5 separate regions of the Homo sapiens genome follow, and all the other regions are linked to region 1. Evidence: promoter capture Hi-C in human tissues and cell types (Jung and others, 2019). All regions are on one chromosome and are shown on one strand. The core of a region is centred on a gene start or on the middle of the fragment in contact, and the rest is flanking DNA. Distances in the headings are between cores, read along the strand shown.

Region 1 (5,499 bases), core at 1,222-3,721:
GCTGCACTTCGTGCACTTTGCTGCACAACTGTGGGTTGTGACTGGAATCCTGAGAAAGAAGGTTCTTCTCTAAAACGAAGCCTGGTGGGCACTTTGTGTATAACATCTAGTAATTCTTGACAGCGTGTGGAAAATATAACAGCAAAATCATCTACAATCCTAAAATACTGTCCAAAATAATAGAACAGCAAGAAAATGTGTTGTTAGAGAATTAAACAAAATGTGGTGTGCATTACAGGCAGTCTACTAAGAGACTGCCAAAACAAAGAAAGTCACCATAATTAGCTCTCAAGTAGAAGACTTGACAGTACCATGTATCATACATAGTTTATTACACTTTCACCTAGTAATTTGGGAGGTCATCCGGGTTTCCTAATTGGTAATATTCAAAGGGAAAATAAACTTCCCACAGCTTCAGGACAGGAGGTAGATTTGATATGTGAAGGCAGGTACCTGCTGAAGGCAGCCTCCTACTCTGCTACAGAAATTGCGGAATAGGTTATATATTCTTGCTATGCACATTTCAAAGCAATAGTTTCCATGTCCTAAAGACAATTTTGAGTCAAAAAAGACAAATCACCTAGTTAACAGATTAAAATGAGTTATATATATTTCAAAGAAGCAGAGAAAATATTTAAATATAAAAGTTTTCAAACTAAATGCTTTAAGGGAGAAGAGTAAAAATTCTTTCCTCATTCTAAAGAGAAAGCATTAAGCCTCTTCTGATTTGTATTTGGTCCTACAACAGGCAGGTCTAAAGGCATGGTCTTGAACTCACTAACGTTGAATTCTTGTAGCACATGAGGGATGCACTTGAGCAAACTGTGTGCACAGGAAAGAGGATTTGTGGGGAAGAAAAGAGCAGAAGAAAGGTGCTATCAAGAGCCTTGAGTGGGGGCAAGGCAGGATTGACGAAAGGACTGGTTTGTGCTACAAGTTCAGGCCCAGGCAGGGCTAAGCTCTAACTGATTCCTGAGCCCATAAAGGCAGAGGAGATTAGGATCAGGTGGTCCAAAAGCCTGGGTGGGTGAAGAAAACAGATTCCTGCTACAGATCTGGGGTTAAAATGAACCAGGAGTCTTCTGGGCACTGTGTGTGTTCTTGGGAGAAAAACCTAGGAGCAAAGCTGCCATGGGCACAATTCCTGAGGGTAGAACCCTGTCCTGGGACAAGTGTGGCCGTGCGAATGCCCAATGGGCGGGCTCAGGAGTGGGTTAGCATTGGGTGGGGGCTGGCAGCAGGGTGCAGGGAAGGGATGTTTCTCAGAACTCCTTTCCTCCAAGTTCTCAGCGCCCTCTCTCCCCGGGAGGAGACCTGGAGGAACAGAACAGTGCGCAGCAGGACAGTGCATGTGCAGAACCCGGCTGGTCTCCCGCGGACACCTGCGACTCCCTCCAGCCCAGGCTCAGCCATGTCTTTCTTCTGACAGGAAACGTGAGGAGTTTGCTCAACACCAGTCAATGCTCCGACCCCAACGGGCTGTCCAACAACTCACTAACGACACCACCCGGAGTCAGCACAGACCCCACAAGCTCAGCGCTCTTCCCGCAGCTGCCCCCCTGCAGACGCCAGTCCCTGCCTCTGGACACCCGTCTTCATTTCTGAACACCTGTCTACAAACCAGGGGCCCACACCCTCCTCAAGTTCAATAATATGACAGAACTACTCACAGAACTCAGCGAAGCGCTGTGCGCGCCCACACTAGCGTATTCTAAAAGATGCCACTCAGGAACAGCCACGCGGAGGAGGCGCACAGGGCAAGGAGACTGGTGGGCAAGTTGGAGCGGGCGGGTGATTTGCTTCGCTTCCTCACACACCTCACAAAAGCTTTTCCTTCAAGACCCGCTGGCAGCCCCCAAACCACGAGCCACGGCCGGCGCTGTCCCATTAATGAGTCCCCATTTGCTCACATGAACTCTGTTTTGATGGGGCCTCGATCTCATTCCGAACAGGGTAAAGCAGGGACGGGATCCCCAGACCACAGCTTCTCCCACAGCTCCTCCCACGCCGGCATCGCGCACGCCGCGCGGGCGGCTTCCAGATAAGCTACTCCTCACCCCACAGCCTGGGGAAGGTGCGGGGCTGCGGGCGCAGAGCTGCACAAGGAGGGCTGCAGGCTGGGCCAGAGCCGCTGTGCGGGGACCGACAGGAGCCCAGGTCCCTCACCGGAGGGTACTGAGGCCCCAGGGCTGAGCGGCGGCAGCGGGGACTCCGTTCGCAGACTCGGTCCCGCCGCCATTTCCCGCCAGCTCCGATGAGACCTCCTCAGCCTTGGGACGCCCTGCCCCGCACACTCACCATTTCCCCACTTCTGAAGTATTCGGGAGTCTTAGCTACCAATCATCCAATACCCGCAGGTCACAGAGCGACGGAGGCTGAGCTGTGGCCGAATCACCAAGGCCTCCCACAACTGAGAACGCAGAGAGATGAAGCCCCTAACCCGCGGTCTGGTAGTAGCCAGACGCAAAGACCCGCGCCACATCCCGGAAGCCACCGCCTCCTCTCTGGCTGCGTGCCTGATTGGGCAGTTTTCACTCCAGTGCGCTGATTGGATACGGCTCCAATCTCCCCGCCATCAGACCTTGAGTGACAGAAGTTGCAACCACATACTCCACGGAATGTGGCGAGAGTGACAGCCGGGGGGCCTCCAGGCAGTTTCAGGCGGGGCTTTCTCTTCGTGCTTGGCCTGGCACAGCCCAGGGGTCATTTTTTAACCTTGTGATGTGTAAGGTGACGTCCATTTAGAAATTATACACGCACGCACACACACAGACATATACGCGCGCGCGCACACACAGACGCGCGCACGTACGCAGTCTCACATAAACATACAAAAGTCACAGACACACACACACACACACGCACGCACCCACGCACGCACAGCCCATCCTTCCTCCAAGGCTCGCGAATCATCTCTCCACAAATCCTGCCTTCGGGGCCGCAGCCTGCAGGCCGACCTCAGTCCGTCCTCACAGAGCCTAGTTGGGTGCACAGCTCTCCCTGACGCGCGAGGAGCAGGTTCACGGGAGTCGGTCGCGCATCCCCAGCGCCCTGCGGGCCTCGCACCGGCTGTGGCGGTGACCCCGGTGAGGAGGGCTTTGGTGCGGGTCACCGTTGCTGAGGACACCCTCCTCCCCCGGAAGCGCGGTCCTGGGGGTCTGGGGGGCGGGTCCCTGACCGCTGTAAACAATAGGTCGGTGGTGTCCACGCAGCAGGCAGCAAATTCTCAGGAAGTGAGCGTCCCGTCTTTGGCTTCACCTTCGTGTCTGTAGAATGGGGGTGAGGGGACTCAGGACTCGGAGCGCTGTCGGGCGGGGCGAGGTGGGCTGAGAGTGTGTCTCCCTCCCCAAGCTCACCCGGAGCTGTGCGGGGCGGGACCGCCCCAGGACCCTCGGTTCCCAGGAGCTCCTGGGGGCCCCGCCGCCCCCACCCCAGGCCGCGCTGCGCAGCCCCAGTCCCCGCCGGCCCCACCGCGCGGTCGCTTTGAGGTCGGCCGGGGTCTGCCCGGCGATGGCGACGCTGCAGCCGCTGGAGCCGGGGCCACCGGGGATCTCGGCGGGACCTGGCGGCAGCGAGGACGCGGACCCTGGAGAGATGGGAGGGGCGCGCCCCGAGCCCGAGCCCCACCCGGACCCGGCTGCCGTCGGCCTAGCCAGGGCCGGGGCGGACACCGTCGAGGACGAAGCCGGGCCCGCGCCCCTGGGCGACCCGTTGAGCCGCGGAGCCCCGCGGGGTGGAGCCGGGCCAGGCCCATCCGCTCCGGGCGCGGGCAGCTGGCGTCGCGGGTGGGTCAGAACCCAGGACACGCCCAGGAGTCCGACCTCATGGCGCTGCAGGGCCTGGGGAGTGGGGGCTGGGGACAGCGCCAGGGCCAACCCGACGCCAGCACCCCCGGCAGACCCCAGGAGCCGCCTGTGAAGAGACTGGATAGGTGCATTAAGCGATCAGAAAAGTCACTGGCTGGCCCTGTTGATGAGCAGAACGCTTTCAGAGAAGTGTATGCTCACGCAGTGCTTGGACAGCATTCGCGTAGTTTGACACTTGTCTGCTTGGGCGGATAGATGCTCACACACATAAGTTTGTTTTGTAGTTATGCAGGATTGCACTGTGGCTAAGTACACAGACTCTGGGTGCACATCCCAGCTGCTCTGCTATTTCCAGCTGTGTGACCATGGGGAAGTTACTTGCCTGTGCTCAGTGTCCTCTGTAAAGTGAAGATAGCAGTACCTGCCTCATGGAGTCCCTTAAGTGAGTTAATAGTGTAACATGTTATGGCGTCATGCACACAGTCACCATCGGTAAATATAGTCTATTATGCCTGAACCCCAGAGGAGCACATGTCCTTGAAAAGTCTAAAATTCAGGACTCTAAAATCCAGACTGTGAGACCCTGGAATCCTCCAGCAGCATTCTAACGTCTCTTGGCAATTGTATGCTGCTTCCCAGGGCTGGAAGGTGTATTTGTATTAATACAGTGAAATAATACGGCCACTTGACCACCTAGTTCATCCCTATAGTAGGCAAATAAGGTGATGTCAAATCCTTGGCTGGGGCCCAGTCCTGGTAATCTTCCCTTCTCTCTTTCCTGCATACTCTCTCATTCAGATTCATACATGCCCTGCAGGACTGCTTAGCCTGCAGAGAAGGCAGGATGGTGAGGAGAGAAGGTGAGTGGGTGGGTGGGTGCAATTGTTCACTGAAGTGTGCTGCCTCTTGCCATCTGAACTTGTGGGCCCAGGCACTGGGTCTGGACCTGAGGGGGTCTTGTTCTCCCTTTAACTTTAAGCCTCAATTGGCAGCAATCGCAGAGCTTCGTCCCTCCCTGTGAGCCTGTCTGGGTGTTTATGCTGGATGACATGCACCCCCTCTGCCAGGAGTGCATAGTCTATGGCCTGGCCAGGCAGCCATTGCAGATGAGAAGAGTTTCAACGTCGACTTTATTGTGCTGCTGGGTTTTTTCTGCTGGCTCTTAGCACGTTTCTCATGAGCCATGATTAGCCTCAGGTCTATGGCACCTTCCGCAGCTATGTCATGGTGACTGGGGACATCATCTGAAGCATGTGCCACTGCTACCCCAAGGCAGGTGTTGGTGAGGCTGTGTGGGGATAGGAGGGTTGGAGACCATGTCTCTATCTCATGCATCAACTCTTCATCCTTCAATCATCTCCTCATTCTTATTTTGACTCTGTGTTTACTTCTTTCTGCCCTCCTGAGCATTCATCCATCTATGCATCATTTCATCCACCCTTTCAACCACCCATCCATTCATCTATTCGTCCATCACTTAGCAGAAGGATTGATCAGAAGCCCCCAGGATCTGGAGCCATGAAACAGACACCATGGAGGAGACACAGTGAAACACAACATATTACTTATGTGCTTAAACTAAAAGTCAGTGAGTGGTTTCCACCTGCCAGGCACTCCTGCATTTAGAGTGCAGTTCTGCCCTTATCCTGATCTTTTTGGAGCCTTCTGTAGTTCCATTTTATATCAGAAAAAG
Region 2 (5,499 bases), core at 1,525-4,024, 120 kb before region 1:
TGTGTCTCTGCCAGGCTTTGTTATCAGGATGATGCTGGCCTCATAAAATGAGTTAGGGAGGAGTCCCTCTTTTTCTATTATTTGGAATAGTTTCAGAAGGCATGGTACCAGCTCGCTCCCCTTTGTACCGTTAGTAGAATTTGGCTGTGAATCCATCTGGTCCTGGCTTTTTTTGGTTGGTAGGCTATTAATTACTGCCTCAATTTCAGAACTTGTTACTGGTCTATTCAGGGGTTCAACTTCTTCCTGGTTAAGTCTTGGGAGGGTGTATGTGTCCAGGAATTTATCCATTTCTTCTGGATTTTCTAGTTTATTTGCGTAGAGTTGTTTATCGTATTCTCTGATGGTAGTTTGTTGCTGTGGGATCAGTGTTGATATCCCCTTTATCATTTTTCATTGTGTCTATTTGATTCTTCTCTCTTTTCTTCTTTGGTAGTGTTGCTAGTGGTCTATCTATTTTGTTGATCTTTTCAAAAAACCTCCTCCTGGATTTGTTGATTTTTTTTTTTTTTTTTGAAAGGGTCTTTCGTGTCTCTATTTCCTCCAGTTCTGCTCTGATCTTAGTTATTTCTTGTCTTCTGCTAGCTTTTGAATTTGTTTGCACCTGCTTCTCTAGTTCTTTTAATTGTGATGATAAGGTGTCAATTTTAGGTCTTTTCTGCTTTCTTTTGTGGGCATTTAGTGGTATAGATTTCCCTCCAAAGACTGCTTTGGCTGTGTACCAGAGATTCTAGTAGGTTGTGTCTTTGTTCTCATTGGTTTCAAAGAACTTATTTATTTCTACCTTAATTTCGTTATTTACCCAGTAGTCATTCAGGAGCAAGTTGTTCAGTTTCCATGTAGTTGTGCAGTTTTGAGTTTCTTAATCCTGAGTCCTAATTTGATTGCACTGTTGTCTGAGAGACTGTTATAATTTTCTTTCTTCTGCATTTGCTGAAGTGTGTTTTACTTCCAGTTATGTGGTCAACTTTAGATTAAGTGCGATGTGGTGCCGAGAATAATGTATGTTCTATTGATTTGGGGTGGAGAGTTCTGTCGATGTCTATTACGTCTGCTTGGTCCAGAGGTGAGTTCAAGTCCTGAATATCCTTGTTAATTTTCTGTCTCATTGATCTAATATTGACAGTGGGGTGTTAAAGTCTCCCATTATTATTGTGTGAGAGTCTAAGTCTCTTTGTGGGTCTCTAAAAACTTGCTTTATGAATCTGGGTGCTCCTGTATTGGGTGCATATATATTTAGGATAGTTATCTCTTCTTGTTGCATTCATCCCTTTACCATTAGGTAATGCCCCCTCCCCCACCTTTTTTTTTTGAGACGGAGTCTTGCTCTCTTGCCCAGGCTGGAGTGTAGTGGCACAATCTCAGCTCACTGGAAGCTCTGCCTCCTGGGTTCACGCCATTCTCCTGCCTCAGCCTCCTGAGTAGCTGGGACTACAGGCGCCCGCCACCACGCCCGGCTAATTTTTTGTATTTTTAGTAGAGACGGGGTTTCACCATGTTAACCACGGATGGTCTTGATCTCCTGACCTCGTGATCTGTCCACCTCGGCCTCTCAAAGTGCTGGGAGTTACAGGTGTGAGCCACTGCACCTGACCCCTTCTGTTTTTTATCTTTGTTGGTTTAAAGTCTGTTTTATCAGAGACTAGGATTGCAACTGCTGCTTTTTTTTTTGCTTTCCATTTGCTTGGTAAATATTCCTCCCTCCCTTTATTTTGAGCCTGTGTTTGTCTTTGCACATGAGATGGGTCTCCTCAATATAGCACACTGATGGGTCTTGACTCTAATTTTCCAGTCTGTGTCTTTTAATTGGGGCATTTAGCCGTTTTACATTTAAGATTAATATTGTTACATGTAAATTTGATACTGTCATTATGATGCTAGCTGGTTATTTTGCCCATTAGTTGGTGCAGTTTCTTCATAGTGTTGATGGTCTTTACAGTTTGGTATGTTTTTGCAGAGGGTGGTACCGGTTTTTCTTTTTCATATGTCCATCCTTCAAGAGCTCTTCTAAGGCAGGCCTGGTGGTGACAATCTCTCAGCATTTGCTTGTTTGTAAAGGATTTTATTTTTCCTTCGCTTATGAAGCTTGGTTTGGCTGGATATGAAATTCTGGGTTGAAAATTATTTTCTTTAAGAATGTTGAATATTGGCCCCCACTTTCTTCTGGCTTGTAGGGTTTCTGCAGAGAGATCTGCTGTTAGTCTGATGGGCTTCCCTTTGTGGGTAACCTGACCTTTCTCTCTGGCTGCCCTGAACATTTTCTGTTAGGCATTTTTTAGATCTGTTTTTTTTTTCTTTAGACGGAGTCTTGCTCTGTCACCCAGGCTGGAGTGCAGTGGCGCAATCTCAGCTCACTGCAGCCTCTGCCCCCTGGGTTCCAGCGATTTTCCTGCCTTAGCCTCCTGGGTGGCTGGGACTACAGGTACATGCCACCACGCCCTGCTAATTTTTGTATTTTTAGTAGAGATGGGGTCTTGCCATGTTGGCCAGGCTGGTCTCGAACTCCTGACCTTGGGTGATATGCCCGCCTTGGCCTCCAAAGTGCTGGGATTACAGGCGTGAGCTACCACGCCTGGCTTAGATCTGTGTGTTATTGTTAGTGGTTCCTGGAGCATTTTTAGTTTCCTTTAGTGGTGTTATGTTTGCCTGATCCTTCATAAGTCATGAAGCCTTGTTTTGATGTCCTTGCATCTGAAGGAGTAAATACCTCTTTCAGTCATTATAGACTAGTTTGGGGAGGTAAATATCTTCTGTTGGATTCTGGGCTGATGAGATTTCCACTGAGATTGTAATAAAGTGTTTCAGATCCAGGTCACATAAGTCCTACTGGGTCTGCAGTGAAATTCATGCTTGGGAGACCTGTTATCTGGGCATCAGACAGTTGTGGATTCTATCTATTTTCTGAGAAGACTGAACTTTCTTCAAGATGTTGATCAATATGACTGGCACTGAGGAAAAAAGCTTCCAGTTATATCTGCAGATTAAGGTGCTGATACAAATCAATGTGAGCAGGTGTGGCTCCCGCTGTGTCGCTCTTGCGAGGTATTTGGAAATGCTCTAACCTAGTCATTGGACAGGTTCCTAAATGAGCAGTACTGACCCTTGATCACAGCTAAGAGGGTGTGGAACTGATTCATAGGGCTGCTTCAGGATACACAGCTGAGACCAAAGTCTTCAGGTCTGTTTTTGGGTTCATGGCATTTCTCCCTCCAGATTTCTGGGTTGGCAGGACTTCTTTCAGACTCTAGGTGACAGAGACCAGAGCTTGGTTATAGGACTGCTTCACGATTCACAGTGGGAATAAAGTCAGCATGCCTACAGGGGCACATACAGGTGTGTCTTTTGGCAGGTCCCAGGTTAGGAAAAAATTCTTCCGGACTTTGGTTGCATGGACTTGGAATCAGGTTATAGTGCCACGTCAAGATCCACCATAAATAAATATTGGCAAGTCTACATCCAGGGGCACAGATGGATGTTTCTCTCTGTGGGTGTCTGGGCAGGATTTCTTCCACACCATGACTGATATGTGCAAAGGGTGGATTTTGGGCTAATTCAGAGATCACAGATAGAACCAACTTCTAAAGGCCTTTCACCTGAGGCATAGGTGTCTTGGTTTAGGTGTCTTCACAGATGGTGCTAGTAGCAGGAACAAAACCAAATGGTCTACAGCTAAGTCTACAATGAAAATTGGACACATTTTATTCTGTAGCTGGGACTGTGATGGGCAAGCATGCCACTCAAGCAAGGGCATGTCTTTTCAATACAGCCCTCCTCAGTCTTGGGTTCACAACCCTTGACATGGATTCCAAAGCTCCCATAAAGTTCCTTTTTTCAGGACATAACTGCTGCTTTTTTATAACTGTAGAAGTTGTGGGTAGAGAACCTCCTGCCATCTTACTGTGTTTTCAGTTTCTGATACATTCTATGTCAAATTTATCTGATTTCAAATTCAAAATTTCTGAAATAAAATGCTCACATTTACTCATTGTGTAATAAATAATTGTATTGAAATGCTTCATTCTTATTAGAGCATTTTTTAATTGAGATGCATTTTCTTTGCATGTAAGGATTCAAAATGCCAGATCTTCATTAAGTACATAGTCAGAGTTGAAAACTGTAGTTAAAGGATTGTTTTTATGATACATCTATATTATATTCAGTGTTTTATAGATCAGAATTTTTTATTCTTTCAACTCTATTTTACTGGGGAGTGTTTTCATGTAGGTTCTCCTCCATCATTTATTTATTAATTTATTAATTTATTAATTATGGAGTCTCGCTTTGTTGCTAGGCAGGAGTGCAGTGGCACAGTCTCGGCTCACTGCAACCTCCGCCTCCCGGATTCAAGTGATTCTTCTGCCTCAGGCTCCCAAGTAGCTGGTACTACAGGCGTGTGCTACCACGCCCAGCTAATTTTTGTATTTTTAGTAGAGACAGGGTTTCACCATGTTAGCCAGAATGGTCTCGATCTCTTGACCTCATGATCCGCCCACATTGGCCTCTCAAAGTGTTGGGATTACAGGCATAAGCCACTGTGCCTGGCCTATTTTTAATTTTCATATTTGTATGGTAATTTTCAACTCTGTACCTTTTATGACCATGTGGTGTTTAATTCAAATAAAATTCATTCAAATAAAAATCATTAGGTTTTACTCGAAGCAATTTAAAATATATGTATAATTCAGAGATTTCTATTGCCTATAAAAGTTATCTATGTGATGTTTGCCTTTATAAATATTGCCCTTACCTGGTTTATAAATTATTTTTTTGATAGGCCGGGCATGGTGGCTCACGCCTGTAATCCCAGCACTTCGGGAGGCTGAGGCGGGTGGATCACCTGAGGTCAGGAGTTCAAGACCAGCCTGACCAACATGGAGAAACCCTGTCTCCACTAAAAATAGAAAATTAGCCAGGTGTGGTGGCGCATGCCTGTAATCCCAGCTACTCAGGAGACTAAGGCAGGAGAATCACTTGAACCCGGGAGGCGGAGGTTGCAGTGAGCCGACATTGTGCCACTGCACTCCAGCCTGGGTGACAGGGCGAGACTCCATCTCAATAAATAAATAAATAAATAAATAAATAAATAAATAAAAATTTTTTTGGTGATCATGACTGTTTTCTTTTGTAGGTGAGTAGGCAAAGAAACAGTGGAATATTACCACCTATTTATTGTTTGATTATGTTTTGTGAGAGAAACACTTGTTATTCAAAGGTGATTTTTGAAAAATGGAACCTTTTTAGGTAGATGTAAATATTTAGTTGTGATGAAAAACATAAAATTGCCTAAAGGTTTTCAAGTGTACAGTCTAGTGGGGTTAAGTACATTTACATTATTTTGAAATGGATCTCTACATTTTGTCTTACAAAAGTAAAGTTTAATACTCTATGAACTATAAACTGCCATTTTTTTCTTTTTCTTCAGCTCTTGAAGAACACCATTTTACTTACTGTTTCTGTAATTTTGACTGATTTTTATATTGTCATTGGTGTAATATTTTT
Region 3 (5,499 bases), core at 862-3,361, 100 kb before region 1:
TGAAAAAAGTAAAAATTTTTTTCAAAAGCAAATAATTCAACTCTAAAATTATACTATTTCAACATTCTCATTTATGTGAAAGCATGTGATAAATTGTTGCTGCGTCAGAGATATGAGAAACTCCTTTGCATTAGGTGGGCATTATTCATAGACTTCTACATGAAAGAGAAGAGAAATAAAAGATGCACCAGGAAAATCTGAGCAGAGAGGCTTTTAGTGGTTGACTTACTGAGTGATGCCTGAAGTAGGTGTTCAGAGTAATACTTTGCGTTATACTGAGAGAGAATCTGAATTTTAGTAGTAAATTGTTTTGCCAACTGTATATTTATGTAATAAGTGCAATAAAATGCAGTAAATTTTAAAATTCTCTTAAGATAATGTGTGAACTTAATTTTTGAAATAAAAATTGTTATTGTGTTAAAATTTTTGTGCCGTGAATGAAGTGTTTTATTATGCCACCAACTTTCACCTATCCAACCTTACTCAAGGGTGTACGTTAAAGATGGTAACAATGTACTATCTGGTAATATAATTGAATGACATCTCTAGTCTTTTTTAGTGGCTTTCAACAGCAAATAAATTGAAGAATATTGTTTGCATGTTACATTTTTATTCTTATTGAAATTTTTCAAAAGGTTTTGTGAGTACATAGTATGTGTATATATTTATGGTATATATGGGTTATTTTGATACAGGCATACAGTATGTAATAATCACACCACAGTAAATGAGTTATTATCACCTCAAGCATTTATCCTTTGTATTACACACAATCCAGTTACACACTTTAATTATTTTTAACTACAGGTCATTTTATGTTTGTAATAAACATTCATACATTCCTGAGTCTTGAATACTTTTAAAAAATGTTTCATATATATCTTTGAACATGTGGCATGTCCTCCTGCAAACACATACAGACATTTAATTTACTTGGAGTTAAATATATAAATTTTGTGCTCTAAAGATAAACGTTGGGCACAAGGAAATTATGGAGCAAGTAATTGTGTTTGCATGAGAGTTTATACCTATTTTCCAAAGAAAATAGCAATATTGGAACAAAGAAGGTTCTATTAATACTGTGGATAGGTAATTTACTAGAAATCTAAAACATTTTGAAATCAAATCTATATTTTCTTCTTTTCATTTAATTACTGTACAATCTAATGAATCATCGTTGAGAATCTCCCCATGCCAATCAATTCTGGTTTTATGTGGTCCTCATGCTCTAGCTATAAATTTCTCATTTTTTTTGTTTCCACTTCATAAAGTATGTGAGCTTGTCAGAAATTATAAGAATCATTTTTATAAAATTTAGTGCACCAAAAATACTTTTTAGATGTAATTTCACAATGTGTGTATTTATGTTTTATTTAATTAGAACATTTCATTTTATTGGACAACCTTATATAAGCTGTTTTCTTTAGTTATTGTTCTTTTCACTTTTTATAACTAAATAAGTTTGTTCAGGCAAGTACTGGGAAGACATAAGTATTGGGGATGTTTTGATAAATAATTGTAGTGAACAAACACAAAGTGCTGGGTGTGTAATAGATGCTCCATAACTAGCCATAAATATTCCTGGAGTTAGTTCGTAGCTCCAAGTAAAAGATTAAAAATATCTATGTTGAAGAAATGTCATTAATTGTGCATGTGGAGAGGACGTGTTCCCAGGCTGCAAAACTGACTCAGTCTGAATTTAAAGAGGATTTCTGTTTTTATTTTCTAATTATCTTTAGTTTTGTGATGTCTTCTTTTCCTTTGTGTTTTGGCTACAGTTTCCTCGCTGATCTCTTCATGCCGTGTAATTTCACATGGACTTTCAAGGTTCAGATGAGAAGTTTAGAATTTTTAATGTGGTATATTATTGTTTTTAACTGGGTTGTTTGAGATTATTTATAATTTATCAATACAACATTCAGATGACTTGAGAGTAATTCACTGTTCACAGGTAAGAGGATTAAGTCAGCATTGCTTCTCTGTATTGGTAAAGGAAAAATTGTATGAGATTCTAACAAAAAGTGTGTTAAACATAAGTTAGAATAGGTAAAACATTAATATAAGTGGGTTGCATATTGTAAGCACCATATGAAGAAACTCATCAGAATTTTGATATCTCTTAAGATAAAATATATCTTAGAAAAAAAATTTTTTTTTTTTTTTAGACAGAATCTTTCTCTGTTGCCAAGGCTAACCTGCAGTGGCACGATCTCAGCTCACTGCAACCTCTGCCTCCTGGGTTCACGTCATTCCCTTGCCTAAGCCTCCCGAGTAGCTGGGACTACAGGCGCCCACTCCCACGCCTGGCTAATTTTTTGTATTTTTAGTAGAGATGGGGTTTCACCATGTTAGCCAGGATGGTCTCGATCTCCTGACCTCATGATCCGCCTGCCTCTGCCTCCCAAAGTGCTGGGATTACAGGCGGGAGCCACCACACCCGGCCCTCTTGAAATTTTTAAGAGACTTAATGGTAGGTGAAGGATTTTACATATCATTTTCTATGACATAGCAAAACTATTTTTTTAAGCTGAATCTTTTGAGTGTAAATGTTAAGTGTTGGAAAAATAGAATGATCTGTGTAGATTCAAGATTCAAAATCTGCAGTGATCTTTTCTGTTGAGATTCATGTTACAATCTTGAGGAAATTTGTTATGATTTTTTTGTTTTAGTGGATGCAGTTCATGAGGTACGGTTTTCATTTTTAGTCACTTTATCCAAGTCCTTCGTCACCTTCTCTGGAAAATCAGATTATGGCAGCTATTGAATTCAAACGTTCATTAATTAATGTAATTCAGCATATACATAATAATATATACCAAATACTAACCATAATCCTGTATATCTGTTAATTTTCACAGAAACTCAATGCATAGACATTATTATTATCCTTATTTTACAGAGGAAGGAACAGAGCCACAGAGAAAAATGACTTGCTCACAACAGAAGAGCCAGTAGTAAAACACAGGCAAGTTTGACTCTAGAGATAAGTCTTAACTACTACGGTAAACAACCTCTTCAAACAGAAAATACATGATTATCTTCAACACCCATTTTTTTTTTTGAGACGGAGTCTCGCTCTGTCGTCCAGGCCGGAGTGCAGTGGCGTGATCTCAGCTCACTGCAAGCTCCACCTCGCGAGTTCACGCCATTCTCCTGTCTCAGCCTCCCGAGTAGCTGGGACTACAGGTGCCCGCCACTGCGCCCGGCTAATTTTTTTGTGTTTTTAGTAGAGATGCGGTTTCACTGTGTTAGCCAGGATGGTCTCGATCTCCTGACCTCATGATCCGCCCACCTCGACCTCCCAAAGTGCTGGGATTATAGGCATGAGCCACCGTGCCCGGCCTCAACACCCATCCTTAATAAAAAATTAACAAACATTGGGCTGGGCGCGGTGGCTCACGCCTGTAATCTCAGCACTTTGGGAGGCAAAGGTCTCGAACTCGAGACCGTCCTGGCTAACATGGTGAAACGCCGTCTCTACTAAAAATACAAAAAATTAGCCAGGCGTGGTGACAGCACCTGTAGTCCCAGCTACTTGGGAGGCTGAGGCAGGAGAATGGCGTGAACCCAGGAGGTGGAGCTTGCAGTGAGCCAAGATCACGCTGCTGCACTCCAGCCTGGGCAACACAGCGAGACTCCGTCTCAAAAAAAAAAATTATAATTTCATTTATGTGAGATATTTTTAGTAGTCAGCTCATAAAAACAAAGTACAATGGTGTTTGTCAAGAGGTGGGGGAGAGTGAAAATGTTACCAGGAAGTGCAAAGTCCTTAGTTCTTGTTTTCTTGAGAGAAACAATTCAGCCCAGACACAAAGAACACACCAAAAGAGGAGTAGGTTGGCCCAGCTGGAAACAGTCTTGAGAGTTACATGTTGCAGTTTTTATTATCATAGACTTAAAAAAAATTTCCCACCTCTGTCTTAAGTGTCTGCCTTTGTTTAGTATCCTGCTTCCTGGTAAATCTCTTCTTTTATCCTCATCGAGTTTCTGCCCAGGTCTGTGAGATGCTTCCTTACTGTCAGCTGATATACATGTGTGAGTTCCAGTGATCAATGAATCTTAATGGCAGCACTGCTTATTACCGCCATCTTAGGAAAATAATATAGCAGTCAAATGTGTACTTACTATGCCTACGTATCTCTTAGGAATTTTCCTTTAGCCCTTTTTCCCTTTTTATCAGCATGTAGCTAGCTACATTCTGACAGTTTAATCACAGTATGAGCAATTACTGGGTGTCCTAAGTGGTGTTTCAGGGTGTTCTTCATAGGTATTTCTGCTCCTCTCTGCTCAAATTTAGCATACATGTTTTGGGTTGTCTTTGGAGCATGAGGCTTTTTCCTCTGGGGCTCTTTTTTTCTGTTCATGTCTAACTGCCTACTCGAACATTCCCTCAATAGATTGTGACTCTAAAAATCTTTGAGACAGTGCACTGTGGGTCTTCTGTAACTACTTCCTGGTGACATAAGATAACTCATCAGCATCTCATTATCTTGCTCTTTGTCAGAAAAACATTCCCTCCATGTTTTCCCAGGTTTGACTTGCAGTATCCAGAGGAAATGTGGAGAAACACAGTTGTACAGAAGGGAAGAAAATAGGTTGATACTCCTGTTGCAGGACCATTTGAAGTCTGAGAGTTTCCAGGTGAGAGGAAACAAACCTGGTTACTTGATTTAGTGAGTAAAGCTCACAAAAGAGAAAAAGGAAGACAAAAGCTAGGGATCCCCCAAAAAGGGATGTGATGAGAATTTGAACCAGTTGGCACCCCAGGAGAACTAGCCCTTAGTGGCATGTTTCTGATGGTGACAGGCTTGGTTTATAAAATCTCTAACATGGTCCTGGACTTTCCCTAATCTGTTAACCCAGAAACAGCATTTTTCTCCTAGCATAAGGCAAATGCTTTTGTGAGCTGCAGCTAGTGTGGCAAGACCTCTACAATTTTGAACTACAGCCACGAGATAATCAACTTGTTGCTGTCACTCTGTAAGAGTCTGAGCAGTGGTTTCTGTTTTTTGAGTCAGTTCTAGAGACAGGTTGTGGTAAGTTGAGAAGGCAATAATTATGCCAGCTATTCCTGTAGTGGCACTTGTGATGCCAAGCTCATTGAGGAAAAAAATAAAAAAGATAAACTGCACAGTTGATCTGGTTTGAGGTAGTAAAGGGTAACAGCAAAGAATCATCACCCAGGACAATGCAAATTTTAGGGGTGAAGGAAGCCAGAGTGCATGTCCTCGTCAAGTTTCCAGAGAGGCAGAGATAAGCCTGCATTTCACACAGGAAGTAAAGTTCTGTAGTCAATAAAAATGGATGCAGAAGGTGAGGTCAGTTCCAAACATTGACCAGGGTCCTTGTTGGCTATCCGATATGTGAGATTCTGCCACTAAAGTTGCTGCTGCCAGGGGAGCCAGACATGGGTCCTATGTGTTTTTTTGTTTCATTTTATCATGGGGATGTCTCTAGTAGTATCAAGGAGAAGGGTTTTCTGAAACAAAGACTTGAAAC
Region 4 (5,499 bases), core at 1,762-4,261, 84 kb before region 1:
GAACATTTCCCATGTCCTTATAACACTTTTGTGTTATAAAATTGCTGCACTAATGTTATAGCTGTATTAATGTAATACCAGAGTTGTTGTGTTTGGGTTATATGTAAATTTATTTCTTATAAATAAAACTTTGACAGACTTAAAAAAAAAAGTGGCAAGCTGGGCACAGTGGCTCACACCTGTAATCCCAGCACTTTCGGAGGCCAAGGCAGGTGGATCACCTGAGGTCAGGAGTTCGAGACTAGCTTGGCCAACATGGTGAAGCTCCATCCCTACTAAAAATATAAAAATTAGCTGGGCGTGGTGGCGGCATCTGTAATCCCAGCTACTCGAGAGGCTGAGGCAGGGGAATTGCTTGAGCCTGGGAGGCGGGGGTTGCAGTGAGCTGAGATGGTGCCACTGCACTCCAGCCTGGGTGATAAGAGTGAGACTCCCTCTCAAAAAAAAAAGGAGCAGTTATGCCCTGGCAAAAGAACCTTTATGGGAACTTTGGAATCCATGTCAAAGGGTGTAAACCTAAGACTGAGGAGGGCTGTATTGAGAAGGCATGAGCTTGCTTGAGTGGCATGCTTGCCCATCATAGTCCCAGCTACAAAATAAAATATGATTAATTCTCATTGTAAGTATAGCTGTAGGCCATTTGGTTTTGTTTATGCCACTAGCACCATCTGCCAAGACACCAAGGAGGATTCATAATGTCCTGTGTCTCAGGTGAAAGGACTTTAGATGTTGCTCCTCTCAGTGATCTCCGAATTAGCCCCTTGCACACATCTATCATGATGTGGAAGAAATCCTGCACATGCAGGAACCCACAGACAGAAACGTCCATCTGTGCCCCTGGATGTAGGCTTGCCAATATTTATTTAATGGTGGATCTTGACGTGGCACTATAATCTGGCTCCCAGTCCATGAAACTGAAGTCCAGAAGCAGTTTTTCCTAACCTGGGACCTGCCAAAAAACACACTATATGTGCCCCTGTAGGCATGCTGGCTGACTTTATTCCCACTGTGAATCTTGAAGCAGTCCTAAAACCCAGCTCCAGTCCCAAAACCTACCTCCAGTCCCTGTCAACTAAAGTCTGGGAGCAGTCCTGCCCACCCAGGAATCTGGAGGGAGAAATGCCATGAAGCCAGAAACAAACCTGAAGACTTTGGTCTCAGCTGTGTATCCTGAAGCAGCCCTATGAATCAGTTCCACACCCTCTCAGCTGTGACCAAGGGTCAGTACTTCTCATCTAGGAACCTGTCCAATGACTGGGTTAGAGGATTTCCAAAAACCCAGCAAGAGCCACACAGCAGAAGCCATACCTGCTCACATGGATTTTATCAGCTCTGTCATCTGCCTGTATAACCAGAGACTTTTTTTCCTCAGCACCAGTCTTACTGATCAAGATCCTGAAGAAAGTTCAGTCTTCCCAGAAAATAGAATCCACAATGGTCTGATGCCCTAATAACAGGTCTGCCAAGAATGAACTTCACTGTGATCCAGATCCAGTGCACCTTACTGCAATCTCATCAGCACAGAGATCCAATAGGAGAAAATATTTACCTCCACAAACTAATCTATAATGACTGAAAGACGTATTTACTCCTTCAGATGCAAGGACATAAAAAGAAGGTATCACAGATCATGAAGGATCAGGCAAACATAACATCACCAAAGGAAACTAAAAATGCTCCAGTAACCACTTACAGTAAGACACAGATCTAAAAAATGGCCAAGAATTCAAAATAATTTTCTTAAAGAATCTCAATGGATGCAAAAAGACCACACATTACTAAATTCTTTTGCAACAACGTATGAACAAAATCACAATTATAATAAAGAGAACCCATTAAAAGAGAACCAAATAGATATGCTGGAGCTGAAGTACACAATAGGAGATCTAAAATATTTAAGAGAAAGCTTTAACAGGAGACCTCGTTACACAGGAAAAAAAAAAACAGCAGATGTAAAAGTAAGTCATTTGAAAGTTTCTGATTAGAATTTTAAAAAAGAATGTAAGAGTGAATAAAGCATTTGGGTCCCATACTGCATAGTAAACAGTAAGAATGTACGTATTTTAGGGGGTTCATGAGAGAGAAAATTTTAAAAATTGTTTAAAGATATAATGTCTTAAATTTCTACCAATCTTGGAAGAAATATAGACATTAAATTGAAAAGCTCAAAATGTCTGTAGCAAGAAGAATCTAACAAAAATTGTCCATAACACGTTGTAATTATGCCAAAATTCAAAGACAAGGAGAGATCCTTAAAAGAAGGAAGAGAAAAGAGATTCTTCACATACAAGGGAACTTCTATAAGGTTATCAGCAGATTGCCCAGCAAAAACCATGCAAGCCACATGGAAGTGAAACCGTATATTTAAAGTGCAAATGAAGAGAGAAAAAGAAAAAACCTTGACAACTAAGAATACACCTGACAAAGCTGTTCTTTAGAAATGATGTATCAATCAAAATCTCAGATTTAAAAAAAGTTGAGGAAATTTTTCATCACTAGACCTGACTTACAAAAAATGCTAATGAGAATTTTTCGAGTTGTAATGGAATCCTAACTTACAACAATAAAGTAAATATTACTGAAAGTCATATATACATAGTCAAATTTAGAAGGCTATAAACCTGTAATTATGGTCAAAAATCACTTTTAACTATGGTATAAAAACTATAAGAAAAAATTACTAAAAATAGCTTCAATAAATTGTTAATGGGTATACGATATAAAAAGATGTAGCGTGTGAGGCTGGGCGCAGTGGCTCACGCCTGTAATCTGAGCACTTTGGGAGGCCGAGGTGGGTGGATCATGAGGTCAGGAGATCGAGACCATCCTGGCTAACACAGTGACCCCCGTCTCTACTAAAAATACAAAAAATTAGCTGGTTACAGTGGCAGGCGCCTGTAGTCCCAGCTAGTAGGAAGGCTGAGGCAGGAGAATGCCATGAACCTGGGAGCAGAGCTAGCAGTGAGCCGAGATTTCGCCACTGCACTCCAGCCTGGGTGACAGAGCAAGACTCCATCTCAAAAAAAAAAAAAAGTAGGGTGTGACATAAATACTATGTTGAAGGGAGTAAGATTGTTTAATTTTTCTATACATAGAAGCTAACTTTTGCTTGAGGCCAGGAGTTCAAAACCAGTCTGGTCGATATAGCAGGACCCTGTCTCTTCAATAAGTACATAATTAAAATTAAAGATCTCAGAAAGCTATTTATTCTTTTAAAAAAAGCAGCTGGGCCTGATGGCTCATGCCTGTAATCCTAGCATTTTGGGAGGCCAAGACAGGTGGATTGCTTGGGCCCAGGAGTTCAAGACCAGCCTGAGCAACATGGCAAAACCCTGTCTCCATAAAAAATAGTAAAAAAATTAGCCAGACATGGCAGCATGTACTTGTAGTCCCAGCTACTTGGGAGGCTGAGATAGGAGGATTGCTTGAGCCTGGGGAAGTTGAGTCTGTACTGAGCTATGAATGCACCACTGCACTACAACCTGGGTAACAAAGCAAGACCCTGTCTGGCCTGGGTAACAACGCAAGACCCTATCTGTACAAAACAAACAGTTAAATTGCTATCTGAAGCTTGATTTTATAACTATGAGATGTTTTACATAAGTTTCTTGGAAATTACAAAAAAAAATTGTAGTGGGTAAATACAAAAAAAGAAGGCATAAAACAACAAAAACAAAACAAAAATTCAAGAAAACACCAGGGAAGACAGCATGAAAGAATTAACAGAAACGAAATGGTCAGAAAACAGAAAACAGCAGTAATAGGGCTGGGTGTGGTGGCTCACGCCTGTAATCCCAGCACCTTGGGAGGCTGAGGTGGGCAGATCACGAGGTCAGGAGATCAAAACCATCGTGGCTAACACGGTGAAACCCCGTATCTACTAAAAATACCAAAAATTATCTGGGCGTGGTGGCGGGTGCCTGTAGTCCCAGCTACTTGGGAGGCTGACGCAGGCGAATTGCATGAACTCAGGAGGCAGAGGTTGCAATGAGCCAAGATCGTGCCACTGCACTCCAGCCTGGGCGACTAAGTGAGATTCTGTCAAAAAAAATAGAAAAGAAAAGAAAAGCAAATAGAAGTAATAAGTTCTTATCAATCAGTAATTCCTTTAAATATATATTTAGTTATTCAATAAAAACATTGCTATAGTGTGAGCATCCCCTCCAAAATTCACGTTAAAATTTAACTACCATTGTGAGAAAATTAAGAAATGAGGCCCTTAATAAGTTATTAGATCATGAGAGTTCTACTCTCATGAAAGGATTAGTATCATCATTTCCACAGTGGGTTAGTCATCATGAGAGTGGGTCTATTATAAAAGTGAGCTCTGGTGTACACCTTCCATCATCCTCAAGCCTTTGGTCATGTTGTGATGTGGAAGTATGATTCTCATCAGATGGGAATGATATGCTCTTGGACTTCTTGGCATCCAGGATTCTGAGCTAAGTAAACTTCTATTCTTTATAAATTACCAACTCTGGGATATTCTGTTATTGAAGCAAAAAATAAATGAAAACATTCACAGAATGTCTGAATAGATTTAAAAAATCAACAATATGCTGTGCACAAAAGACTTATTTTAGATTTAAGGACATACATAGCTTAATGGTACAAGGATGAAAAAGAATATTCCATGCCAATAATAACTAAAACAGTGTAGAAGTGGCTATATTTATATCAGACTACATAGACTTATAGAAAAAAAATTTGTCATAAAAAAAGAACTTTATTATATAATGATGAGTCTAATTTGTCAAAAAATAATTAAATATATATATGTACCAAACACTGGAGCCCATAAATATATTAACACATATTAAGAAAAGTGGAGAAACAGATATAATAGGGGAATATACTGCCCTACTTAATACATCATTCAGACAGAAAGCTAGTGAAAAAACAATGTACTTGCTTAACACTATAAAACTGTACCTAACAGACATATGTAGAACATTTCATCCAACAGTATAATTTATATTCTTTTCAAACATACATGGAACATTCTCCAGGACACATCATAAATCTGGCCCACAACAAAAACAAACAAGTCTTTTCATTTTTAAAAAGACTGAAATCATATCAAAGTTTTAAATCACAATTTTATAAAACTAGAAATCAATATAAGGAAAAGTAAAAAACTTACAAATATGTGTATATTAAACAACACGCTTCTGAAAAACCAATGGGTCAAAGACGAAAAAAAATCACAAACTATCTTGAGAAAACTGAAAATAGAAACAGGACATATCAAAACTGAAATGTAACAAAAGATGTTCTAAGAATTTTATAGCAATATATTTTTATACTAAGAAAAAAGATCTCAAACAATGAAACTTTAATCCTCAAAGCACTTGAAAAATAACTAATCCCAATGTTAGTATAATAAAATAAAAATTAGACCTCTAATAGAAATGAATTAGATACTTAAAATACAACAAAAAAGAAAAAAGGCAGAGAAAGAATTTACATATAAAAATTTTCTAAATTAAGGCTGGGTGC
Region 5 (5,499 bases), core at 1,392-3,891, 65 kb before region 1:
GCCGGGACCGCGCCCTGTAGCGTTTCTATCCAAACAACTTGACCTTACTTTTTTAGCATAGCCCTCATGTCTGTGTGCAGTGGCTGCCGCTGCTTTAATACTTTTAGAGGCCCTCAAAATCACAAGCTATGCTCCACTTACTCTCTACAGTTCCCATAACTTTCAAAATCTATTTTCCTCCTCACGCTTGACACATATACTTTCTGCCCCCCAGCTCCTTCAGCTATACTCAGTCTTTGTTGAGTCTCCCACAAATACCATTGTTCCTGGCCGAGACTTCAATCCGGCCTCCCACATTATTCCAGATACCACACCTGACCCCCATGACTGTATCTCTCTGATCCACCTCACATTCACTCCATTTCCCCATATTTCCTTCTTTCCTGTTCCTCACCCTGATCACACTTGGTTTATTGATGGCAGTTCCACCAGGCCTAATTGCCACTCAACAGCAAAGGCAGGCTATGCTATAGTATCTTCCACATCTATCATTGAGGCTACCACTCTGCCCCCTCCACTATCTCTCAGCAAACTGAACTCTTTGCCTTAACTTGAGCCCTCACTCTTGCCAAGGAATTACATGTCAATATTTATACTGACTCTAAATATGCCTTCCATATCCTGCACCAACATGCTGTTATATGGGGTGAAAGAGGTTTCCTCGCTATGCAAGGGTCCTACATCATTAATGCCTCTTTAATAAAAACTCTTCTCAAAGACACTTTCCTTCCAAAGGAAGCTGGAGTCATTCACTGCAAGGGCCATCAAAAGGCATCAGATCACATCACTCAGGGCAATGCTTATGCTGATAAGGTAGCTAAAGAAGCAGCTAGCATTCCAACTTCTGTCCCTTATGGCCAGTTTTTCTCCTCATCGGTCACTCCCACCTATACTCCCACTGAAACTTCCGCCTATCAATCTAATCTCTTCCCACACAAGTCAAATGGTTCTTGGACCAAGGAAAATGTCTCCTTCCAGCCTCAAAGGCCCATTCTATTCTATCATTGAGAGGTGACAGCGTGCTGGCAGCCCTCGCAGCCCTCGCTTGCTCTCGGTGCCTCCCCAGCCTTGGCACCCACTCTGGCTGTACTTGAGAAGCCCTTCGGCCTGCCGCTACACCGTGGGAGCCCCTTTCTGGGCTGGCCAAGGCCGGAGCCGACTCCCTCAGCTTGCTGGGAGGTGTGGAGGGAGAGGCGTGGGCGGGAACTGTGGCTGCGCACAGGGCTTGCGGGCCAGTGTGAGTTCTGGGTGGACGTGGGCTCAGCGGGCCCTGCACTTAGAGCAGCCGGCTGGCCCCGCCAGCCCCAGGCAGTGAGGGGCTTAGCACCTGGGCCAGTAGCTGCTGTGCTCGACTTCTCGCTGGGCCTTAGCTTCCTCCCCGCGGGGCAGGGCTCAGGACCTGCGGCCCACCATGCCTGAGCCTCCACCCCCCCAGCGATGGGCTCCTACGTGGCCCGAGCCTCCCCAATCAGTGCCGCCCCCTGCTCCACAGCGCCCAGTCCCATTGACCACCCAAGGGCTGAAGAGTGCGGACACACGGCGTGGGACTGGCAGGCAGCTCCACCTGCAGCCCCGGCGCGGGATCCACTGGGTGAAGCCAGCTGGGCTCCTGAGTCTGGTGGGGACTTGGAGAACATTTATGTCTAGCTAAGGGATTGTAAATACACCAATCGGCACTCTGTATCTAGCTCAAGGTTTGTAAATGCACCAATCAGCACTCTGTGTCTACCTCAGGGTTTGTAAATACATCAATCGACCTTCTGTATCTAGCTAATCTAGTGGGGACATGGAAAACTTTTGTGTTTAGCTCAGGGATTGTAAACGCACCAATCAGCACTCTGTCAAAATGGACCAATCAACTCTCTGTAAAACAGACCAATCAGCTCTCCGTAAAATGGACCATCAGCAGGATGTGGGTGGGGCCAGATAAGAGAATAAAAGCAGGCTGCCCGAGCCAGCAGTGGCAACCTGCTCGGGTCCCCTTCCACACTGTGGAAGTTTTGTTCTTTCCCTCTTTGCAATAAATCTTGCTGCTTCTCACTCTTTGGGTCCACACTGCCTTTATAAGCTGTAACACTCACCGCGAAGGTCTGCAGCTTCACTCCTGAAGCCACCGAGACCATGAACCCACCAGAAGGAAGAAACTCCAAACACAACCGAATATCAGAACGAACAAACTCGGACATGCTGCCTTTAAGAACTATAACACTCACCGCAAGCGTCCGCGGCTTCATTCTTGAAGTCAGTGAGACCAAGAACCCACCAATTCCGGACACATCATCATTTCATAACCTCTTCCACGTAGGTTACAAGCTGCTAGCCCGCCTCTTGGAACTTCTCATTTCCTTTCCATCATGGAACTCTATCCTCAAGGAAATCAGTTCTCAGTGTTCCATCTGCTATTCTACTACCCCTCAGGGATTGTTCAGGCCCCCTCCCTTCCCTACACATCAAGCTCAGGGATTTACCCCCGCCCAGGACTGGCAAATTGACTTTACTCACATGCCTCGAGTCAGGAAACTAAAATACCTCTTGGTCTGGGGAGATACTTTCACTGGATGGGTAGAGGCCTTTCCCACAGGGTCTGAGAAGGCCACCATGGTCATTTCTTCCCTTTTGTCAGACAGTTCCTCAGTTTGGCCTTCCCACCTCTATACAGTCCAATAACAGGCCTTTATTAGTCAAATCACCAAAGCAGTTTCTCAGACTCTTGGTATTCAGTGGAAACTTCATACCCCTTACCGTCCTCAATCTTCAGGAAAGGTAAAATGGACTAATGGTCTTTTAAATACACACCTTACCAAACTCAGCCTCCAACTTAAAAAGGAGTGGACAGTACTTTTACCTCTTGCCCTTCTCAGAATTAGAAACTGTCCTCGAGATGCTACCGGGCACAGTCCATTTGAATTTTTATATGGACGCACATTCTTACTTGGCCCAAACCTTGTCCCAGACACCAGCCCTCTAGACAACTATCTTCCAGTCCTCCAGCAGGCTAGACATGAAATTCGCCAGGCTGCTAATCTTCTCTTGCCCACTCCAGATTCCCAGCGATATAAAGACACCCTAGCTGGACGATCAGTTCTTGTTAAGATTCTGACCCCTCAAACTCTACCACCTCAATGGACTGGACCCTACTTAGTCATCTATAGTACCCCAACTGCCGTCCACCTGCAGGACCCTCCCCATTGGGTTCACCATTCCAGAATAAAGCTGTGTCCATCAGCCAGCCAGCCTGATATCTCCTCTTCCTCCTGGAAGTCACAAGTACTCTCCCCTACTTCCCTTAAACTCACTCGCATTTCTGAAGAATAATAATAACCCTTATGAGCCTAATACATCCCTTCATTCTGTTAGGTGTATCCATCCTTACCCTACTCTTTGCAACAGGGCTTTATGCAGTCATCCCCACTACTTGGACTACACCCCAAAAACTTGTCATCCCTGCTATCTTCTGTCTAGTCATACTCCTATTCACCATTCTCAACTACTCATAAATGACCTGCTCTTGTTTACACTGCCAGTTTACATTGTTTTGCCAAGACTTCACAGCTGATAACTCCTGGTGTTATCCCCAAACCACCACTCTTGACTCCCTCTTGGACTGGATAGATGATCTTTGCTGACAGGGCACCCTCCAATACTTCCACCCTGATGAAGTTCTATTCTTTACTTTTATACTCACTCTTATTGTCATTCCCATTCTTATGCCACTCTTTACCTCTCCCAAATTGCCTCCAGCATACTGTCAATTTCACCCACTCTCTCCTCACTGCCTCCAATCCTTCTCTAGCAAAGAATTGTTGGCTATGTGTTTCCCTTTCTTCCTGCTCTTACACAGCCACCCCGCTCTACAGGCCGATTGGGCTACCTCTCCCGTCTCCCTGCACCTCCGAACCTCCTTCGATAGCACTCATATTTACGCACCTGGGGAACTTCTTTACTTTCTAGACAGATTTGGTGAGAACTCCTCAGACATTTCACACCAACAAGCTGTCTGCCACACTTCTCCGCATCTACTTATAGCACCTTTCTCCTTATGTCAATTCCACCCCCACCCATATTTGGACCCCTAACCTCACAAACAATTATCCCTGTTGCCGCTCCGTTACGCATCTCCCAACAACAGCCTACTGGAATCCCTGCAGGCAACCTTCCACTGTCCAAATATTCCTTTACTCTTTATCTCCAGAACCCAGCCACACACATTACCAAACGGATGGGAGCATTCCAACTTTGCATTACTGATAAGCCCTCTATCGTTACAAACTAAAAAGCATTGGCAGTCACTATTGTTTAGGAAGACACCTACCCTGCATCTCACTCCATCCTTGGCTACCCTCCCCCTGCTCATCTGAATCTCCTCCTAGCCCCTCCTCTTGCTTGTTTATACCCAGCCCCATGAATAGCAGTGAAAGGTTACTTGTAGACACTATGCGCTTTCTCATACACCATGAAAACCAAACCCCTCCCTCTACACAGTTGCACCATCAATCCCCATTACAACCTCTAATGGCTGCTGCCCTTGCTGGATCTCTAGGATTTTAGGTGCAGGATTCCTCTTTCAGTACACCCTCTCACCTTTTCACTTTACATTTCCAGTTCTGCCTGACACAAGGTCTCTTCTTTTTATGTGGCTCTTCCACCTACATGTGCCTACCTGCCAACTGGACAGGCACATGTACTCTAGTCTTCCTTACCCCCCAAATCCAGTTTGCAGATGGGAACGAAAAACTGCCTGTCCCTCTCATGACACCAACATGACAAAAAAAGAGTCATCCCACTAATCCCTTTACTTGTGGGTCTAAGACTTTCTGCCTCCACTATTGCACTTGGAACTGGAATAGCAGGCATCTTAACCTCTGTCACAACATTCTGCAGCCTCTCTAATGACTTCTCTGCTAGCATTACAGACATATCACAAAGTTTGTCTGTTCTCCAAGCCCTAGTTGACTCTTTAGCTGCAGTTGTCCTCCAGAACTGCTGAGGCCTCAATTTATTCACTGCTGAAAAAGGAGGACTTTGTATATTTTTAAATGAAGAGTGTTGTTTTTACCTAAATCAATCTGGCCTGGTATATGACAACATAAAAAAACTCAAGGATAGAGTCCAAAAACTCACCAACCAAGCAAACGATAACGTTGACCCCCCCTGGACACTCTCTAATTGGACGTCCTAGGTACTCCCAATTCTTAGTCCTTTAATACCTATTTTTCTCCTCCTTTTACTCGGCCTTGTGTCTTTCGTTTAGTTTCTCAATTCACACAAAACCGCATCCAGGCCATGACCAATAATTCTATACAAGAAATGCTCCTTCTAACTACCCCACAATATCACCCCTTAACCCAAAATCTTTCTTCGGTTGAATCTCTCCCACTGTAGGTTCCCACGCCACCCCTAATCCCGTTCGAAGCAGCCCTGAGAAACATCACCCATTATCTTTCCATACCACCCCCAAAATTTTTTGCCGCTCCAACACTTCACCACTATTTTGTTTTC

What was found. The method cuts DNA at HindIII sites, captures the fragments that hold promoters and counts their contacts. A contact is called where the count stands out against the background at its distance.
Region 2: a fragment that was not itself captured here is called in contact with the fragment with the promoter of ZNF141 in region 1 in 3 of the 25 tissues and cell types used here (dorsolateral prefrontal cortex, lymphoblastoid cells and mesenchymal stem cells).
Region 3: a contact is called between a fragment that was not itself captured here and the fragment with the promoter of ZNF141 in region 1, in 3 of the 25 tissues and cell types used here (dorsolateral prefrontal cortex, lymphoblastoid cells and spleen).
Region 4: a fragment that was not itself captured here is called in contact with the fragment with the promoter of ZNF141 in region 1 in 8 of the 25 tissues and cell types used here (adrenal gland, aorta, dorsolateral prefrontal cortex and 5 more).
Region 5: a fragment that was not itself captured here is called in contact with the fragment with the promoter of ZNF141 in region 1 in 2 of the 25 tissues and cell types used here (dorsolateral prefrontal cortex and spleen).

What each region holds. Positions count from the first base shown.
Region 1 is chr4:334,786-340,284 of GRCh38, reverse strand. It overlaps ZNF141 (zinc finger protein 141), which reads right to left and starts at 2,471. Exons shown (of 4, transcript NM_003441.4): 1 at 2,299-2,471. The coding sequence starts at 2,301. RefSeq lists enhancers at 2,622-2,721, 1,766-2,726, 2,832-3,347 and silencers at 3,362-3,471, 3,702-3,761. The HindIII fragment of the contact is 20,671 bases long and covers 559-5,499 here.
Region 2 is chr4:455,644-461,142 of GRCh38, reverse strand. The region is part of intron 2 of ZNF721 (zinc finger protein 721); the gene reads left to right. It also overlaps the pseudogene ABCA11P. Among named protein-coding and RNA genes, the nearest start is that of ZNF721, 41 kb to the left of the region's middle. The HindIII fragment of the contact is 3,564 bases long and covers 993-4,556 here.
Region 3 is chr4:434,912-440,410 of GRCh38, reverse strand. It overlaps ZNF721 (zinc finger protein 721), which reads left to right. Exons shown (of 3, transcript NM_133474.4): 3 at 1-423. It also overlaps the pseudogene ABCA11P and the pseudogene LOC100533734. Among named protein-coding and RNA genes, the nearest start is that of ZNF721, 61 kb to the left of the region's middle. The HindIII fragment of the contact is 8,490 bases long and covers 1-5,499 here.
Region 4 is chr4:419,596-425,094 of GRCh38, reverse strand. No RefSeq gene overlaps it. Among named protein-coding and RNA genes, the nearest start is that of MIR571, 72 kb to the right of the region's middle. The HindIII fragment of the contact is 5,047 bases long and covers 488-5,499 here.
Region 5 is chr4:400,030-405,528 of GRCh38, reverse strand. No RefSeq gene overlaps it. Among named protein-coding and RNA genes, the nearest start is that of MIR571, 53 kb to the right of the region's middle. The HindIII fragment of the contact is 8,017 bases long and covers 1-5,499 here.